Linked DNA regions of Homo sapiens: region 2 is linked to region 1. Evidence: promoter capture Hi-C in 16 types of primary human blood cells and fetal thymus (Javierre and others, 2016). All regions are on one chromosome and are shown on one strand. The core of a region is centred on a gene start or on the middle of the fragment in contact, and the rest is flanking DNA. Distances in the headings are between cores, read along the strand shown.

Region 1 (5,742 bases), core at 1,203-3,702:
CTTAAAAACTCACCTATTTCCTTTTTTCTGCATTCCTTTTCTGTCTTCATGTGTAATAATATGAGGTGACCTTTGTTGTTGAGCACAGATTAAACTCAGGAGCTTTATGTGGATTATTTCATTTAATCCTTACGGTGACCCTGGAAAGTAGATGCTGTCATCTACCTCTTACAGGCGAGGAAAAGGAGGCTCAGAGAACATAGGCACTTGCCTTAAAAAGTGGAAAGTTGAGTCTCTCACTCTAGAGTCCATGTTCTGTTAACCACTTGGCAGCTAGAACATGTGTCCTTGTGTATCCAACTTCTTTCCTATTGAGAATTAATTCTTTAAAATAAATTCTCAGGAGTTGGGATAATTGGGATAGAGGGTCTGAATATGATGATAACCTGTCAAAGCTTTGACCCTTCTTCACTACCTCTCCTGCCACAGCGCCTGCCTCCAGCACCCTGAAGATGCTGTGTGATATGTCCTCCTTACCAAGTTGGTGATGGCTGCCTCATGGTGGGCCCTGGACAGGTGTGTGGTCCTGCTGAGCTGTCCACGTGTCGGAAGACCTGTTTAAGACAGTCATTTTTGCCTCTCCGCCAACTGTCTTCAGAGAAACCATTAGGTTAGGTGATACGGTGCCAGCAAGGGAAGCACCATCGTCCAGGATCTGCAAATCTGGTTCCTGGGAACCCCAGACTCCTCAGCAGATCTGGCTGTACATGGATCAGAACCACTTCTTCCCCCGCTTAAGCTGTGGTTTGACCCAAGGGTCAGCATATAGGACTGCCTGCTGCATTTAATGAAGGTGTTTCCTTTTGGAAGTCTGTGCTACCCTCTGCGCCTAGTTGGGAGGAGACATCCATCTGGTCTGGGATTTCGGGAGTTAGAATGGAAAGCTCTTTGCTAAAGACTGGAGTCATCCTGGCCTGCCAACTGGTGGTTCAGAGCCGGACGGGCTTGTTTTGGACATCACTGTTGCCTTCACTCAGCAGCCACGGGAGAGTGCTCCCCATGCAACTCCACCTTAGAAACCACGTCAGATACTGAGTAGCTTGCTGACTCCTGGAAACTTCTGGTTTTTGTTAGTATCATAATGAAGGCAAAGAGAACTAGGCTGTCATCTTTCAGCCTCTTTGACTTACTCTAGATGTTGGGAGCAGTGGTTGCCAGGTGAAACCTGGGCCCTTTGTCTTTTTCACCATGCTTTGGGCAGTTTCTGTATCCAGAGAGTCCGCAGGTTCAGATAAGCTGAAGAAGAGTAATAGAACAGCAAAGGAAGTGGCTTGAAGGATGTGCTAGTAAGCCCTGTGGTTTGTGCTTAGGTCTCTGCTCTGCTACCCAAGGAACTGGTGGTTCAGCTGGAGATAAAAAGAAGAATTTGCCAAGTCAGAGAAGAAACCCCAACCCCGGAAAATCCTCTGTCTCCAGTCTCTGGAGGTGAAGCAGGGACAATAAGCTAAGGTAGTATCTTGGCCATCCCAGGAAACTTGTGGCATTAGGACGATGAAGGCCATGCTTCAGTGTTTTCGTTTCTATTTCATGAGACTTTTTGTCTTCCTGCTTACAAGTGGGAAGATGATTGACAGTGACTCTACTATGCAGGGCTGTTGGTACCAACCTGAGCCCTATAGGTGGCAGTCCCTGGAGAAGTGGTCACAGAAGATGGAGCTCTGATCCCCTGCTTACCTCTTCACAACACTTGTGTGCAAAGATAGTTTTAGATTTGGTTTAGAAGCTATCCTCCAGAACAGGCTCCCATACTTAGAATGTTTCTAGTTAAGGTAATAAATTAGGCAACCCAAGTGTGACTCCACTCAAGTGTCCTTTTCTGTAGGCAGGAAGGGCCCACAACATGGCTTAAAATGTAGTCCATGGTTCTGGCCCACAGTACAGTGTGTATCTATACCAGGTCACCTGTGTTCAATCTGGGAGCCTTCCTGGCCAGTCTGAGTGGCAGCCAGAAGGGAGCTCATAGTGTCTAGGAGTCTCAGGCAAGGTAGGTCAGGGTACTGTGGGCAGGGGGGATGTGTGTGATAGGAGAGGGTACCCTAAACCCCATACCTTCCCTCCCTGACCTGAAAAGCTGATCTCAACAGGGATTCACACAGAATTAGGCTGTGTTTTTGCATTAGCTGGTAGGTGACTTTCTCAAAATTCTTAAATTCAGAAAGTATTTAGTAAACTTGAGGAAGGTATGAAATCTGGAGGAGGCATCCAGGACCCAGGGGTTTGATAGCTTTACAGGTAGGATCATACCACACCAAAAGAGCAGTGGACAATAAGACTATATGAGCTATATGAAGCTTTTAGGAATCATTTAGGACAGACAGAGCCCTAAACAACCCATTCATGACTTAAGTTGTTGGCTCAGTGTATGCTGGGGACAAAGAAAAACTAACAAGCCGACCTGCCTTTATGATAAATTCTAGTGTGCTTACAAGGGATGACTTCCTGAGGTGTGATCTGTCCACCTTGAAGAACTCCACAACTGAAGAAGGGGAGCTGTGAGAACGTGGATTGTTCTACAACTTGCACAGGGTAACAGAGGAAGTGGCTGAGGCCTAGAGTCACGTTTTCCAGTTCCCTTCGCAAACTATATTTCTTGGAACGCGAAAGGAAGCTTTACCTATTTCATAGAAGACCTGGAATCCATAACCTCAGAAGGCAATATTATTGATAGAAAATGTGGAAGGATCAGGAAGTTCTTAGATTCTTGGATGACAGATGCATGTTGATGCCCTATGGAGATGTCCTTGTGTTTTGAGGTCACTGAGGTAGGAAGACCTGTCTACTCTTGGTTTCACCACTAGAACAGTCTTGGGCTGGATGGGTTATAGAGCTGAGCGGCTGTGATGGTTCTGTTTTTACATTAACAAAAACAATTAAAAACACCAAAAACAACATTTGGATTGCTTCAGCTTCTTTTCAGTTGACTTCTCATATGTATTCTGGAAACCACCCAATGAAGTGGGCACCAAAGGTAGAGCTAAGATATTGTAAGGCCAGTGATCATCACCTCACCAATGCCAGGTGGTATGAGGGGGTACTGTAATTTCCTTTTTTTTTTTTCGAGATGGAGTCTCGCATTGTTATTTGGGCTGGAGTGCAATGGCGCGATCTTGGCTAACTGCAACTTCCGCCTCCTGTGTTCAAGCAATTCTCCTGCCTCAGCCTCCCAAGTAGCTGAGATTACAGGCGCCCGACACCACGCCCAGCTAATTTTTTGTGTTTTTAGTAGAGACAGGGTTCCACTATGTTGGCCAAGCTGGTCTCAAACTCCTGACCTTGTGATCCGCCCGCCTCAGCCTCCCAAAGTGCTGGGATTACAGGCGTGAGCCACCACACCCAGCCTGTAATTTCCTTTCTATAAGTGAGGAAACAGGCACAGAGCAGTCAAAACAGCAGGAAATGGCAGAAGCAGTACTGGAACCCAGACAGTCTGATGTCAGTGTCTTTTCTACTCTGCATTGTGCTAGGGTTCTAAGATGGGAGACTGGAGGTAGAGATTAACCCAGGAGGTGAGGAGATGGTGGCTTGGCCTGCACGTGACCTTTTCAGTTTACTTCCCACCAGGCCAAGAGTAATTGATGTTGATATGGTGGGGCTCTTGGCTGAGCCTACGTCAGTAGGTGGGGTCCCTCAACCTTGATCCTGAAAGATCAGTATCCTTTCGCACTTCCTATACCTCCACCCACCGCCAATAAATACATAAAGATTTAGAGATGAATGAATGAATTCCAACCTCTAGATTATTTGTTAACTTGTATTCAGGAGGACCTTCCTTCTAACCCCTAAATTCCAGGTCACTACCCTTGGCATTGGAGCCCTCTGGGTGGAGGCCATAGTTCTGGTATGCTGCTTGGAGTGTCCAGTATACCTGGGCACATCGTGTTACCCTCCTTAGTAGACATCTGGTTTGCTGTCTTCTCCCTCAAACTCTAGTCTCACTGACTTGAGCAGTCAGGTCAAGCGAGATGAGGATTAGATTGTTAAAATGACAGCTCTCTGAAACTTCAGGGGTATGGGGACAGGGCCATAGCAAATAATGATGCAGACAAGTCTTTTTTACCTTTTTATGTCTTTTTCAAGCACACATTTTGGTCAGGGTTGATGGCTGCAAGAAGGAGAAACCTATTCACCACCAAAATAGCTCTGAAAGGGAATATTCTCTCATTAGGCATTTTTATAGACAAGGAGCCTCACGGTTTTGGTACTTGCCTCGTGACCTCAAGTGGCTTGGACTTGCCGGGATCCAGTTTTGATCCTATTGTCACAGGACTTTTTAGCTGCAGAACCCTTTATGGATGGCTGGTCTCTTTCATTCAGTTCAAATTCTGAAGACAGCCTGATTGGCTCACTCTCACTTGTGGGTTGGTTCTCCTTATCTCTTCCCACCCAGTCCAATCATAGTATCCAGAAGATGAAGTCATGTGGTTCATATCATTACTTTTCTAAGGAGAAGTAGATGGATTTAAACAAAGCAAAACACTGCTGGACTGTTAGATATGTGTGTTTTTAACCTGCAATTGTAGTATAGTATAACACCCTTCACCAAGTTTCCCCAGTACTTACATCTCACTTAACTATAATACAAAATTAAAACCAGGAAGTTGGTACAATGTGTGTGTATAGTTCTATGTCATTTTATCGCTGTAACCATAAACAAAATACAGAATGGTTCCATCAGCACAAAGATCTCCCTCATGCCACCCCTTTATAGTTGCATCCATCTCCTTCCCCACCATTCCTGACCCTAGCAACCACTAATCTCTTCTACTTGTCCTAAATAGGTTGATGTATAAATAGAATCTTACAGTGCATGGCCTTTTGAGATTGTCTTGTTTTCATTCAATATCATTTCCTTGATACACATCCAAGTTGTTACGTGTATATGAGTAGTTCATTCCTTTTATTGCTGAGTGGTATTTCATGGTATGGGTTTAGCACAGTTTGTGTAACAATTCATTCACCTATTGAGGGACATCTAGTTTGTTCCCTGTTGGGGGCTATTACAGATAAAGCTACTGTGGCAATTGTGTGCAGTGGTTTTGTTTTGTTTTGTTTTGTTTTGTTTTGTTTTGTTTTTTGAGACGGAGTCTTGCTGTGTCGCCTAGGCTGGAGTGCAGTGGCACGATCTCAGCTCACTGCAACCTCCACCTCCCTGGTTCAAGCAATTCCCCTGCCTCAGCCTTCTGAGTAGCTGGGATTACAGGCACACACCACCAGGACCGGCTAATTTTTTTGTATTTTTAGTAGAGACAGGGTTTCACCATGTTGGCTAGACTGGTCTCAAACTCCTGACCTCAGGCAATCCTCCTGCCTCGGCCTCCCAAAGTGCTGGGATTACAGGTGTGAGCCACTGTGCCCAGCCAATTGTATGCAGTTTTTAAAATGAGAACATGAGTTTTCATTTCTCTCTGGTAAATAACCAGGAGTGTGATTACTAGGTCATATGTTAAGTTTTTAATTTTTTAGGAAACTGCCAGCCCAGCCTGATGGCTCACACCTGTAATCCCAGCACTTTGGGAGGCCAAGATGGTAGGATTGCTTGAGCTCAGGAGTTTGAAACCCCCTAGGCAACATAGATAGACCCTGCCTCTACAAAAATACAAATTAGCCGGGTGTCATGCCGCGCACCTGTAGTCCCGGCTACTTGGGAAGCTGAAATGGAAGGATTGCTTGAGCCTGGGAGGTCAAGGCTGCAGTGAGCTGTGATCGTGCCATGGTACTCAATCTGAGCAACAGAGTGAGACC
Region 2 (5,718 bases), core at 278-2,777, 460 kb after region 1:
TTGCAAACTCCACCTCTGGGTTCAAGTGATTCACCTGCCTCAGCCTCCCGAGTAGGTGGGATTACAGGTGCCCGCCACCGTGCCCAGCTAATTTTTGTATTCTTTTAGTAGAGATGGGGTTTCACCATGGTGGCCAGTCTGGTCTTGAATTCCTGACCTCGTGATCCACCTGCCTTGGCCTCCCAAAGTGCTGGGATTATAGGCGTGAGCCACCGCGCCCTCCTGAACACTCATCTTAAGTGGTCAGCCTTGTGCATTTGTTTTTTGATGGGTCCTATTCTTTATTTTACTTATTTTTTCTAGGTTTACTGAGGCATAATCGACAAATAAAAGTAGTATATGTTTAAGTATACAACGTGATGTTTTGACATATGCATACCTTGTGAAATGATGACCACAACAAGCTAACTAGCATATCCATGGTGTGTATCCTGACATCTGTCAATACCCTGCCCTGGCAGCAGGGCGTCTGCCTCCATCATGGTCTCCCTGTGATTCTGATTCCTATCTTTGGAGAAGCTCTGGATTCCAGGCACAGTGGGAATGCTGAAAGGTCCTTGTGGACAATAGCTATTCTTCTTGGCTCTGTCGCTTCCCTTCACTGGGTGCAGGTGACTGTGGGGGTGTCCCCAAATGCTGCCCAGCGCTGACATGCTCCGCCTCTGGGATTTCAATCCAGGTGGGGCCCTGAGTGACCTGGCTCTGGGGCTCAGGGGTATGGAGGAGGGGGGATATAGGTAAGGAGTTTAAATTTCCAAATCTGTGAAATGGGAATAAATACTGACTGATCATGCCAGCTGCTGTGGGATTAGGGGGTGGACTCCCTGCGAGGCTCTGGGCATCTGGGGGTTCCACCTTTCCCACATGGCAGGCTTTCTAGGGTGCTGCACACTGTTCAGTTTGTGAAATTTCCTGGAGCCCTGTGCTTGTGATAGTGAACTTTTCTATATGTGTACTAAAATAAAAGCTTGTGAAAGTGCAGTGACCTTTTCCTCCTTCCGGAGATACACGGGGGGCGCCCCAGGGTCTCAGGCAGCTTTCCCCATGTCTAAGCACAGGCCGGGGTAGGAAAGGGGGTCTCCCTCGCTGGAGGAATAGGTCTATACCTGGGCTGGGGCCTCAGCTAGGCCTGGAGCAACTTTCTGCGATGTTTCTCTGCCCCCTGGAGGCAGGAAGGAACCTCAGAAGAGCCACACTCCCAAGCGGGCCCCTCCTGTCTTTCACCTGCTACAGCCAGGAAGGGGACTGGGCTGGGGTGGGAACCACAGGTAGGCATCGGAGGGGCTGCCAGTAGACCTGGTTTGGGTGGCGCTGCCGGTAGAGCTGGTTGGGGCGGGGCTGCAGGTGGAGCTGGTTGGGGCGGGGCTGCAGGTGGAGGTGGTTGGGGCGGGGCTGCAGGTGGAGATGGTTGGGGCGGGGCTGCAGGTGGAGGTGGTTGGGGCGGGGCTGCAGGTGGAGGCGGTTGAGGGGAGCAAGGTGGGAGGTGGAGCAGCTGCTATTTAAGAGGGGGTGGTGGTGCCGGTTCTGCAATTAGGTTACTGTGTCTTGCTGGGGCTTGGTCTTGTTTGCTGAAGGGGCAGCAGGGCTCTACCATGGAGGGTGTAGGGGGTCTCTGGCCTTGGGTGCTGGGTCTGCTCTCCTTGCCAGGTAAGCTGGCTGCCTGTCCCTCCTGCTGCTGGCTCCAGCCTGGAGAAAGCTGGGGAGAGGCTAGAAGGTTGTGGCTGGAGCCTGCAGGGATTGTAGCTGAGCTCAGTAGCTCAGAGCACAGAGCTCTCCAGGGTTATTCTAGAAGTCAGCTCCTGGGGGGCCAAGGGGAGGCCTCCTGAAGGCCCTGGAAGCAGAGGGCCTGCCTGGCAGAAGATAAGTGTTGTGCCCCAGGCCTACTTGTCTTGGGGTGGGGGTAGGCTGTAAGTCCCCACTCCAGCCTGGTCAGGCAGGGAGTCATCCAGGCTGAGCCCATTGTCCAAGAGCCTGGGCTGAGAGAGAGTCATAAGGTGGGGTCTGAGGCTGGCCCTGCCCGTCACGGGCGTCAGAACCCGAGGTCTGTCCTGCCTCCTTCCTTCCTGCCCCTCCTCTACCTCATAGGTGGGGCACATGGTCCCTTTTGGTCCCCCTAAGGGAGCTCCTTCCCTGAGGTCATCTAGACCTTGGCACCAGTTGGGGTTGAGCAGGGAGGCTGGGAAGGCTCCTTGGCTTTGTGCTGGAGCCTACTCTTCCTAGGGACTGAGTCTTACCGTCTGATCCCCCACACCCACCCCATGTCCTGCTGTCTGGTCTCACCGGTGGGTGCTCCAGGCATCTGTGTATGCCCCTGTCTGTCTGGACCAGGTGTGATCCTAGGAGCGCCCCTGGCCTCCAGCTGCGCAGGAGCCTGTGGTACCAGCTTCCCAGATGGCCTCACCCCTGAGGGAACCCAGGCCTCCGGGGACAAGGACATTCCTGCAATTAACCAAGGTGAGGGCACTACATCTTCTCACGGCCTGGAGGGGCACGACGTTATGTAGTGTGAAAACCACACCGAACACTCAGAAATGCAGAGCCTGGGAGGAAATGGACCAGCTTACTCTGGGCTCTAAGTGGTTTTTAAGAGATGGAGTGGTGTTGCTATATTGCCCCGGCTGGTCTTGAACTCCTGGCCTTAAGTGATCTTCCTGCCTCTGCCTCCCGAGCAGCTGGGACTACAGGTGTGAATGGGTGGAAATTCTATGGGCAATTGCTTAAGTCTACTCTTTCTTTTTGTATCTTTCTTAGTGGATTGTTACTTTTATAAGAAAAACCAAGCTCTTAAAGGGCCTGGGCGTGGAGCTAAGCGGTTAGTCGCAGTCTGAGATTGTCAGCCACCCTGTGCAGGACTGTCTGCAGGTGTGATTAAGAAGTCTGAAGCTCAGCTGGGTGCGGTGGCTCTCGCCTGTAGTCCCAGCACTTTGGGAGGCTGAGGCGGGCAGATCATGAGGTCAGGAGATCGAGACCATCCTGGCTAACACAGTGAAACCCCGTCCCCACCAAAAATACAAAAATTAGCCGGGCGTGGTGGCGGGCGCCTGTAGTCCCAGCTACTCAGGAGGCTGAGGCAGGAGAATGGCATGAACCTGGGAGGCGGAGCTTGCAGTGAGCTGAGATTGCGCCACTGCACTCCAGCCTGGGCGACAGAGCATCTCACAAAAAACAAAAAACAAAAGTCAGGCTCAGGGCCTTGCTGTCTGGGGATGTCAGCTGAGGAATGAGGGTGTATAAATAGCCTGAACAAAGCCAGTTGAAATGGAGACTGGAGTTCAGATGTTGGAGCAATGAGGGCTGAAGCACTCAGGGTTGAAGCAATCGGGCTGAACAGGGGACAACCTTGCCCTAAGGGTGGGTGAGATCCTACCAGATGTGGTAGCCACTGTGTGATCTGCCCCCTTCTTCCTCTGTGAGCTGACTTGGGAGCCCAGCGCCAGCTGAGCCTTGAGCCCCAGGCACCATCCCACCCCTGGATCACCGTGAGTGGTCTGCAGGTAACCAGAACCAATGGAGAAAACTCCCAAATGCTGGTGACCCCAACAACTATCCTATCACCTACGGTGAGGCTGTCTCATAAGGGCTGCCCGTGCCTTACCCAGTGCTTTCCTGGGAAGCACCTGCCCATCTCCAGCCACTGTGAATATGGCTAATGCTGCACAGCTGTCTGCCTCCCAAAACTGGCCCTTGGCCAGAAGGAGCTGCCTCAGCCAGAGATGCCCGGGGGCTACTCCCTTGTCTGCCCAAGGTGGCCTACTGTGACTTCTAAGGGACAGGAGTCTGGCTCCTGCCTAAAGGTGGTACAAGTCAGCGGTGTCATTTGTGGTCTGGAGCGCCCATGGGATCTGGCTGAGGCTGTGCCTGGGTTCTTCCCTGCCTTCTCTCCTGCTTCCCTCACTCCCCCTGTGAGTCACTTGTGGGAGACCCGGCTCAGGGAGAGATGAGAAGCAGAGGGACTAAGAGGGGAGAGGGGCTTGCGAGAGCCGGTATTTGCCTGCCTCTGATGGTGGAACAAATTTGTGGAACAAAATTGCCACCTCAAGGGGCCTGAATATAACAGATGGGTGGGGAATAGATGGGGGATGAGGTGGGCAGGAGACCCCAGGGCCTGTTCTGAGGAGTGTGGCTCAGGCTGGAAGAAGCCACTGCTTCCTGACAGCAGGGACCCGGGCTTGGGACTGGATTGCGTGGGTCATGGGCTGTGTTTGAGCAGGGGAAGGCTGCAGTCCAGCCGAGAAGCCTTGCACACTCAGGGACTGTGTGACTTCCCTGAGGCCACGCAGGCTCAGTGCTCAGGGAACCTCTAGCTCCACAGTCAGGAGAGGGACAGACCCCAAGCCTCAGTCTCCTTTGTCTTTGTCCTCCAGCCCCCTCACACCTGCAGACAGTCCGCACAGGGTGGCTGACATTCTCAAACATCAACTAATGACTTAACTAAACACCCAGGCTCGGAGAGCCGATGACCTATACTTTTATCAGGCTATTTAAGAACTTATAAAAGTAACAATCCACTAGGAAAGACACAAGAATAGACTTAAGTAAGTAGGGATTTGCTTGGCCTGTCCCACGAGTCAGTGTTCTGGGGGACATGGGCCAACACGTCCTTCTTCCTTTCCCAGGGCTCATCCTGGAAGAAACCCCAGAGAGCAGCTTCCTCATCGAGGGGGACATCATCCGGCCGGTGAGTGCACACACTGACGTGTGTGGGTGCGGATAAGCCCACAGTTGGCGACAGGTCCTCTGAGCCCACCCTGGATGCCATGGGGCCTGATGTGTGAGGGACATACATAGCTTGGTAGATGCCTCTTTTTGTCAAGGTCAGAGCGACTGTTCTGTTAGGAAATAGGAATAAGCCAGCCTGAATGCTAAGGAAGGCTGGTATCTGAAGTGCTGGCACAGTCAGCCTGAGAGGGCTTCCTGAAGGAGGAGGTTTGAACACTTGACCCAGCTTGGTACCCTGCCCAGGGGAGGTGCTCAGCACTCGGGAGGTGCTCAGATAAAGGAAGAGATGAGCAAGGGTTGGCAGAGTGGCCAGTGGCAGATAAAGGGCCTGGTGGCAGTGGCGACCTAGGGATGGTGGAACAAGGAGTGATGTTGAGCCTGACCATCTTGGCTGTGGTCGAGGGGCCGCATCTGAAGGGAGAAGGTTGCTGGGGATTGGGGCGCCTTGCTAACAGAAAAGGGAACACTGTGCCCAGGATGGCAGCCATGTGTTTCAGGCAACTGCGAATGGCAGAAGGCTCCTGAATAGGACAGTGACCCAGGGGAAGGCAAGACTGTCCTGTTGGAGGCTGCCACTGACGGCACAGCCTCTGGCTGGGCAGGAGAGCCAGAGGCTGGCCCAAGGCTGCCCAGGAACTCCGGGGGCAGGGCAGACCCTCTGGGTTATGCAGTGAGTGCTCGGGCAGGTGGTGTGCGACCACCCGGAGCAGAATCAAATGCCTCCAGCCGATGGCACAGGCACGCTGGGGTGCTGTGGAGCCTGGGCACCGAAGGGCTCTGGTTGCTGGAGAGCAGAAGTAAGCAGCCGAGGCCAGGGTGCTGCCTCACTTTCACTCCATATGGCTCTGTTCCCATGATCGTCCCATGTTCAGGGAAGCCTGGTGGCTGTTCCCCTCTGGAAGGGGCACTGTCAACATGCTGGAGTGGGGCTGCTGGCCCAAGCCCTTCTGATTCAGGGCACCCTGGGGTGCTGGGCCTCCTAGCCAACATCCTCAGGGA

The links. Contacts are between HindIII fragments. The CHiCAGO score rates a contact against its expected background, and 5 or more counts as called.
Region 2: the fragment with the promoter of ASTL here is called in contact with a fragment that was not itself captured in region 1 in 1 of 17 cell types (total CD8 T cells); the score reaches 7.8 in total CD8 T cells.

Annotation. Positions count from the first base shown.
Region 1 is chr2:96,590,319-96,596,060 of GRCh38, reverse strand. KANSL3 (KAT8 regulatory NSL complex subunit 3) reads left to right here. Exons shown (of 21, transcript NM_001115016.3): 21 at 430-2,889. The coding sequence ends at 450. Among named protein-coding and RNA genes, the nearest start is that of KANSL3, 45 kb to the left of the region's middle. The HindIII fragment of the contact is 317 bases long and covers 2,294-2,610 here.
Region 2 is chr2:96,134,311-96,140,028 of GRCh38, reverse strand. It overlaps ASTL (astacin like metalloendopeptidase), which reads left to right and starts at 1,527. Exons shown (of 9, transcript NM_001002036.4): 1 at 1,527-1,647; 2 at 2,329-2,454; 3 at 4,617-4,678. The coding sequence starts at 1,593. RefSeq lists a silencer at 623-712 and enhancers at 1,603-1,672, 4,013-4,062, 4,914-5,413. The HindIII fragment of the contact is 4,955 bases long and covers 970-5,718 here.